Regions from separate parts of the Homo sapiens genome. Here all the other regions are linked to region 2. Evidence: promoter capture Hi-C in 16 types of primary human blood cells and fetal thymus (Javierre and others, 2016). All regions are on one chromosome and are shown on one strand. The core of a region is centred on a gene start or on the middle of the fragment in contact, and the rest is flanking DNA. Distances in the headings are between cores, read along the strand shown.

Region 1 (2,700 bases), core at 24-2,523, 2.9 Mb before region 2:
AGGCAGAATTTTTAAGTCTCATACTTGCTAGCAAAATAGCAAGGTGTCCATGATGTGAAAACACAGAACATGCCATTGCATGAGACAAGATTTCTCTCTGTGTTGGAATTTATTTCTAATCTGCTTTTTCTTAGATTTTCTCAAGCTTGGATTTAATTTTGTAGAATAACTCATAGAACATGATGTGAATGCAATTTAAAAATACTCAGAGCATTATGATTTCTGTAATCATTCAATCAAATCTGTACAATGTGAGGTTTCAGTCTATTAAACAAAAATGTACTTTTGAATTATACCATCTGGCTAAATTTAAGAGCTTTAAATGTGTTTTCCATAAAAATACAATGTGATAAAAGTTATAATGAAAAGTGTATTAAGTATTAGGAATATAGAAAAGAAAGTAGTCAGGCCTGGGGACACTAGAAAAGCTTCATTAAGATAGTAATATTTTAATTAGTCCTCAATCATTCATTCTACAAATATTTATTGAGAACTTACTATGTGCTAGGAACAATTCTAGACATCAGAGATGCAGAAATTTGTAGACAAAATTCCCTGAACTTACACTTGAGTGTATGAGCAAGTGTATGTGGTAGGGTCAGGAGACAGACAATATATAAGTAAAATATGTAGTGTGTCAGATGGTGGCAAATGCTATAGAGACAACTAAAGCAAGGAAGGAGGACTTGGACTGCAGAGGAAGGGTGTTGTAATTTTAAATGGGGTGACCAGGGTAGACATTCCTGAAAAGATAATCTTTAATCGATGACCTGAGAGAGGTGAGGGACATAGACCTGTGATATCAGAAGAATATTTCAGGTAGAGCCAACAGAAAGTGCAAAGGCCCTGAGGTAGGAGCATGATTTGTTCAAGAAACATTAAGGAAGTCAGGTCACATGTATGTAGCACAGTGAGTGTGAATGTGTGCGTATTGTGGGGATGGGAGAGATAACTGTAGAAGATAAGGTCAGAAAGATCACAGAGAAACCAGAATGTGCAGGGCTTTTAAAGTCTGTTGTAAAGAACTTGGCTTAAAACCAAAGTTAGAAACCAGGCATTTGCAGGAGTGTTAGTAGTGGCAACAGAGATGTGGAATATTCTCTAATCACATTAATAGCAACACCTAATATTTGAATACTTTTTATGGGCCAAGTGCTATGCTTAACAATGAGGAGGTACTTTATTCTCACAAGAAAGGGGGCTATTCTAAGTCCCAATTGTCACAGGAGGTAACTAGTTCAATAACTTAGCCAAATAACCAGACAGGAAGTGGCAGAGCTGAGCACAAACACACTTGCCAGATGTCAAACATGTCATTCTTTTTCCCTAGCTCAGTCTACCTTCCACTAAGGTCTGATTAACCTGGAAGGAAGAATGCAGAATCCAGGGTGGGGAGTGGCAGGGATGAGATAGCTGATGGTTGCAGAGGCAAGAGACTGCTGCCATAAAACGGCACTTCCGTGTAGGAAGCAAGGAAATAAAAACATACAAGGGCTGAGAGACAGAGAGAATAAAAAGGACCCAGGGATGGGAGGCTGTACAGGATAGCAGTATCCATGAGGGTGAGAGATTGAAAGAAATGGAGGGAGAGGAGCTGTAAATTATGGTTAAGAAAAAGGGAGGGGGAAGGAGGAAGAAATGCTAGGATTTGGTGTTAGCAGTATATGTGATTGATAGAGAAAAAAATAATTTTCTTGTCCTTATATAGTGATTAGCTATTTTATTTCTCAGTAAGCGTCAGCTAGCAATGTCCATTTCTTTGATACCTTCTGGAGGGAAAGGAAACTGCAGGCATTTTTTTGGTATTTGTATTCAAAGCTACAATCTGCTTTCATTTTCACTATGCCAAGACTGTTATAATTCAACCATCCAGATACAGACATGTCTATTTGAGTGCTCTCGTTAAAACGTGTCTATGTCCAATTTTATGAAATTCCTCTATTTCCTTTCTCTATTTTATTTCCATCTTAAAATAAAATGCATCTTGTTGAAGTGACTGCATAGGACAGCTAAAAGGGATTAAAAGGCACCTTGGGCTCAGTTGGGTGGCAAGAGAAATGAAGAGACTCCAAGTACTGCTAACAAATAAATTATCTTGCAGACGATTCAGAAGCTTCCCAGAGAAGATTTCCTTAGGGTTCTTAAAAATCAACTAACTCACTGGGCTTTATTTCTGACTTTGATATTAAAGAGTGCAAGCTGAGTGGCAACTCCTTAATATACATACAAAGGAAGTCAGGAGAAAGTGGGGCAATGGTCATTCCATCAGGTACCAGGGACTTCCAGAGTTCCAGAGCTACTCAGAACCCAGGCCATCAAGTGGCAACCAGGGACATTGGAAGGAAGCGTCTTCCTGAGCCTGGAACTTCTCTGTCAAGTCTGGTGTGTACCATGGCAGAGCTATGGCTTCTGGATGGCTCCTCGACAGCGTGTCAAGGGAACATGAGGCCGGCAGCTGGAAAGCAGTGTGAGTAATGGAAGAGAAATTCCTCATTTTCTGACCTCATCCAAATAAAATTTTTAAAAAGAAAATTAAAGCAGCTTATTTCATTAGGAAAAAAAATGCAACTGGAAATCATGAAGTAAGACTAAGTTTCCCATCAGAAATGTTTTAATTAGAGCTTATGTTTTGTTTCCTCAAGTGCTTAGACACCAAGCATCTTCCTATTCTCAATTCACATTGACTCAACATGTACAGAA
Region 2 (2,700 bases), core at 134-2,633:
AGATCCCTGCAATTCCTCCCGGGCCTGGCGGAGACGACAGGGGCCTCCGGGGCCTGAAGACGCCGCAGGGAACGGCCTGGCCACTGCCCCGGGGGCGCGAAAGCCAGGGAGAGCGGGAGAGCGGGAGAGCGGGAGAGCGGGAGAGCGGGAGCTTGGGCTGAGGGGGCTGGACGCGGGGAGCGGGCCCCGAGGCTGAGGAAAAGGCCGCCCCGGGACTCTGAGGGGCGGGGAACGGGACCTCGCGGGGCAGCGACGCTCGGGCAGGCCGCGGCGGGCTCGGTTCCCGCCAGGCGGCAGCCCGGGGTCCCGGGCCGGAGGCCGGGCCTAAGCGACAACCCGGCTCCGCGAGGGGGAGGGGGCGTCTACTCACACGTGCTGACAGGCCGTGGTCCGCACGGGCGTTTTGAGCACCTCCTGACAGACGGGGCAGTAGAAATCATCTTCGGTGTAGGACGTGGCCGCAGAGAGGTCCTCGGCCATGGCGGGGGATGGGGAAACAAGGCGATGGCGACAGCGGCAGCGGCCGAGGTGACGGTGGCGGCCCGGGGCCCGACTCCCTACATGAACCCGGAGGGGGGAGGGGGATCGCATCAGGATACAGCGCGCGCCAGGAAGGGGGCGGGGCCCTGGGTAGGGCGGGGCCGAACGCAGAGACGCTACTGCCGCACGCGCCGGGCAAGAGGCGACCCCTCCCACGGCTCCTCCCACAGGGGGCTGGATGGGGGACGGTGCTTGGCGGGAGGCTGGGCTCGCAGCATGCCGTGGGCCCGCCCCGCTCGCCCCTCACCCCGCCCCAGGACGCGGCCTCACGCTCTAGGCCACGCCCTCACCGGGCTCCAGGCGCGGGCTCGCGCCCCGCCCTCAGCCCCCGTCTTCGCCCAAGGCCTCCCTTTTCACTGCTTTTCCGCCTCTACTCACCCCGACCCCGAGCCCCGAGTGCCCAGCCCGTGTCCGCGGCTTCCTCCCCGCCCCGCTTCCCGGCACCCCGGCCCCTCCACGCTTCCGCCGGGGAGACTCTCACCTAGGAGCCCCGAAGCGGCGTTGTGGACGGAGCTGCTTTTCCTTCACGTGTTCGTAGAGACCCGGCCCAGCGCTTTCCTCGAGCTTCCTGTCCGGCCGCCGCTATCTTCGCAGCCGAGGCCCCGGGGCAAATGGAGGGCGGCGTGCGCTGTGCTTATCGGCCCCTAACGGGGCCGGAGCCGAGGCTCATGGTGCAGGGAGATTCGCCCGCCGCCGCCAGCAGCTCTGTCTTGGCATTGCGCTGCCTACAGCCTACCCGGCCGTCACCGAACGCGGGAGCGCCGGGGATCTGGGCGGAGGAGCCAGGAGAGGCGGGGAGGCACGGGGTGTGAAGTGCGGCCTGTATAGCAACCGGCGCACGGCGCCTTCCGCGGGTTGTGACGTAAGCAGCTGGGCGCCCGCGGTGACACCTGCGCCTCCCCGCCCCGCCTCGCTAGGCCCGGGACCCCAGTTACCTCTCCTGTCAAATACATTGGGCCTTTCAGGAAGTTTTCGTCAATGTTCAAGATTTAGTCTTTACTATTTGCCCTACCAGAATGTTTTGATCTTGTCAAGATGTGTTATAAACAAATATTTGTTACGGGATTTTAATCCTTTGGGGGCAGGATTAAAGTTTCCTTGAGAGGATGTCCACTTTCTCCTTTAACAGCATGACCGATGCTTAAATACGGTCGCAGATGCAGTCTTCTACTACACCTTTGGGTTGATTTTTGATTTTTTCTTTTTTTTTTTAGCTTTGAAGAGAAATGCCGTAGAAGCATGGACGTGGCTTTTCACCAAGGTTATTCACTAATTTAAGTGTTTTTTTTAATTTTATTTTATTTTATTTTATTTTTTGAGACAGGTACTCACTCTGTCTCCCAGGCCGGAGTGCAATTATCTGTACAATTGATAATCTATAAGATGGTCCAACCTGCGTAACAGAGTGAGATTCCGTCTCAAAAAAAAAAAAAAAAAAGAAAGAAAAAAGGCCGGGCGCGGTGGCTCACACCTGTAATCCCAGCCCTTTGGTAAGCGAAGGCGGTTGGATCACTTGAGGTCAGGAGTTCAAGACCAGCCTGGCCAACGTGATGAAATCCCATCTCTACTAAAAATACAAAAATTAACCGGACATGGTGGTGGGAGCCTGTAATCCCAGGTACTCGGGAGGCTGAGGCACGAGAATCGCTTGTACCCGGGAGGCAGAGGTTGCAGTGAGCCGCGATCGCGCCGCTGCACTCCAGCCCTGGCGACAGAGTGAGACTCTCAAAAAAAAAGAAGAACAAAAAAAGGATAAATCGATAAGATGGGATCCACAATGACGTGAAAGAAGCTAAGGAAAATCTGGAACATTATACAGCATCTACAATTAGCTTCAGAGAAAAGAAAGGTTTTATTACCATCCTTTGTTAAAACCCTCCCCCATGGTCTAAATGAATAAACAGAAGCCATTTAAGGGACTATTTAAATCAATTCTGCCATTTATTGTCTATGTTGACATTGGCATTGTTAGGTGTTATGCAGATGTCATGAACTTTGCTCTCAACCTGTTTACATTATTACATATCTATCAGAATGAGAGAGAAAAAATGGTATTTGCCAAAGTATTAAATTTTGCATTAAACGATGGCTATAATGAGGATAGGAAATGGAATGATTAGAAATATATAGAGTTAACAGAAAACTTTATGGAGGAAATGG
Region 3 (2,700 bases), core at 133-2,632, 3.0 Mb before region 2:
AAACTGGCTTTTAGCTGGAAAGATTTCTGAACAGATTCTGGGAGCCAAGGATCCTCATCTTCTCCAAAACGAGGTCCCTCAGTCGATCCTTTTAGGCAAACCTATGACCTTACTAAGCTTTTGTTTCCCAGTCTCTAAATTTTACTTGAGACAATTTCTTCTTAGGGAGTTAGAGAAGTCAGGAGCAAAACAACAACAAAACTGCCAAATTAGATGGAATGGGAATGGAAAGAGATCAAGTTTAGGGATCTTCACCACAAAAATTTTTAAAAGGGGGGCATCCAACGCTTTGGCTATTCTTGGCAAAATTTTGGAAGCATGCAAATGGCTCCTTGTTACATTTATTTTTCCTCCCTCTTTTCATTTACTTAGTTTTTAAAATGTTTACTTTAGGTTTGGGGGTACATGTGAAGGTTTGTTATATAGGTAAACTCATGTCATGGGGGTTTGCTGTACAGATTATTTCATCACCCAGGTATTAAGCCCAGTAACCATTAGTTATTTTTTCTGCTCCTCTCTCTCCTTCTACCTTCCCCTCTCAAGTAGACCCCAATGCCTGTTGTTCTCTTCTTTGTGTTCATTAGTTCTCATCATTTAGCTGCCACTTGTGAGAACATATGGTATCCTTGTTACAATTAAAGAAAAAAAATTTTCTATGCACACTTTCCTCTTAAATTTAATAGTGGAATCTAGCAAGAAGGGGACACACAATACAAAGAAAAGAATGTCTTAATTATAGGGTTCTTCTCCACAGAACTAGAAGAGCATCTCCTATCTACCAAGACTACCTCCCAAATGTAACATGTTCATATAAAACTTCTAAGGTAGATTCAGTGTTTTTTTTTTCTCAGCTAAAATAATTATTCTGTTACTATTTTACCCTCTATTTACATATTAAATACTGTTTTTTTATTTTTATTTTATTTTTTATGAGATGGAGTCTCGCTCTGTTGCCTAGCCTGGAGTGCAGTGGCGTGATCTTGGCTCACTGCAACCTTCACCTCCTGGGTTCAAGTGATTCTCCTGCCTCAGCCTCACAGGTAGCTGGGATTACAGGCAAGTGCCACCACTCCCAGCTATTTTTTGTATTTTTAGTAGAGATGGGGTTTCACCATGTTGGCCAGGCTGATCTCAAACTCCTGACCTCAAGTGATCCACCCACCTCAGCCTCCCAAAGTGCTGGGATTACAGGCATGAGCCACAGTGCCCGGGCTAAATAGACTCATTTAATATGTACTTACTGAGGATGGACCATGTAACTAATTGCTGTAAAAGTCATTGTGAACAAAGACTAGGTCTTTTTGTGTGTGTGTGTGGGGGGGACTTTATATTCAAGTTAAGAATATAAGACCTGTACATATTAAAATACAATTCAAGACTATATTATTATGCAAAACATATGTGTATAATTCTATTTAAAAAGATAACCTATTTTTTTAAATGGAAAAAGATTTGAACACTTTACTACAGAAGACACACAAATGGCCAATATGCACATGAAAACATACCCATCATTAGTCATCATGAAAATAGAAATTAAAATCTCAATGAGATACCATTCTACATCCATAAGGATGGCCAACATTTAAGAGACTGATAGTAAGTGTTGCCAAGGATGTGAAACAATCAGAACTCTCATACTGTGCTGCTAGGAATGTAAAATGGTACAACCATTTTGGACAACTGTTTGCCAAACAGTTTCTCAAAAAGTTAAACACCAGCCATATGACCCAATCACTCCACTCCTAAGTATTTTCCCCAGAGAAATGAAAACACCTCCACAAAGACTTGTATAACAATATTCATAGAAACTTGCTTCATAATTCCTAAAAACTGGAAACATAAATGTTCATCAACTGGTGAGCAGATAAACAAAATATGGTATAGCCATACAATGAAATACTACTCAGCAATAAAGAGTGATGAACTACTGAGACATCCCATATGGATGAATCTTAAAATCATTGTGCTGAGTCAAAGTAGTCAGACACTAATGAGTGCATTCTCTGTGATCCCATTTATATAAAATGTAATCTAATCTGTGGTGACAGAAAGCAGATCACTGGCTCCTGGGGCTTTGGGCAGAGAAGATTTGGACTGCAAAGGGTACAAGGAGTCTTTTGGGGGTGATGGAAATGTTCTGCATCTTGACTGTGGTGATGGCTTCAGGGTGGACACACTGCCAAAACTCTGACTCAGACACTTTAAATGGCTGCAGTTTACTGTACATAAATTCTTAATAAAGTTGATGAGGGGGAAAAAAGACTGTAGTATAATTTGTTTGACTTTTTTCCAGGTTCAATTTGAACTTTTAATGAACATCTGCTATGTGCAAAGTATTGTACAGGGTACTTAGAACAAAAAGATTATAGATTTTTATCAATACAGGGTAAAAGAGTAGATTTAAGCTGCAAGCAATAATACTAGCTAACATTCTTTGAGGCATTTACTTTGCACCAGGCACCGTTTGGCACACCTTATGTTCTGTAACACATTTAATCTGCATAAGAACCCTGGGAAGTTGATGCTACTATTATTTCCATATGCACGGTAAGAAAATGAGGCTTAGAGAGGCTAAAAAAATGTTGCCCTAGAAAGGGATGGAGCTGGGACAGAAAGTAAAAGTCTCACACCAGAGCCAAGCTTTGCCCACTATACCTCACTGCCTCTTCAAGCAACTTCCTGGCTGTGCACTTTGAG

What was found. Contacts are between HindIII fragments. The CHiCAGO score rates a contact against its expected background, and 5 or more counts as called.
Region 1: a contact is called between a fragment that was not itself captured here and the fragment with the promoter of RNF138 in region 2, in 2 of 17 cell types (total CD8 T cells and total CD4 T cells). The highest score is 8.3, in total CD8 T cells.
Region 3: a contact is called between a fragment that was not itself captured here and the fragment with the promoter of RNF138 in region 2, in 1 of 17 cell types (total CD4 T cells). The highest score is 5.5, in total CD4 T cells.

What each region holds. Positions count from the first base shown.
Region 1 is chr18:35,029,055-35,031,754 of GRCh38, reverse strand. It overlaps a transcript of MAPRE2 not described here. Among named protein-coding and RNA genes, the nearest start is that of MAPRE2, 11 kb to the left of the region's middle. The HindIII fragment of the contact is 1,685 bases long and covers 431-2,115 here.
Region 2 is chr18:32,090,557-32,093,256 of GRCh38, reverse strand. It overlaps RNF138 (ring finger protein 138), which reads right to left and starts at 1,383. Exons shown (of 8, transcript NM_016271.5): 1 at 1,022-1,383; 2 at 371-557. The coding sequence starts at 480. It overlaps LOC124904278 (a long non-coding RNA gene), which reads left to right and starts at 1,312. Exons shown (of 2, transcript XR_007066327.1): 1 at 1,312-1,402; 2 at 1,755-1,982. It also overlaps a transcript of RNF125 not described here. RefSeq lists a silencer at 545-964 and an enhancer at 1,635-1,684. The HindIII fragment of the contact is 10,157 bases long and covers 1-2,700 here.
Region 3 is chr18:35,051,625-35,054,324 of GRCh38, reverse strand. The region is part of intron 1 of MAPRE2 (microtubule associated protein RP/EB family member 2); the gene reads right to left. Among named protein-coding and RNA genes, the nearest start is that of MAPRE2, 12 kb to the right of the region's middle. The HindIII fragment of the contact is 2,526 bases long and covers 120-2,645 here.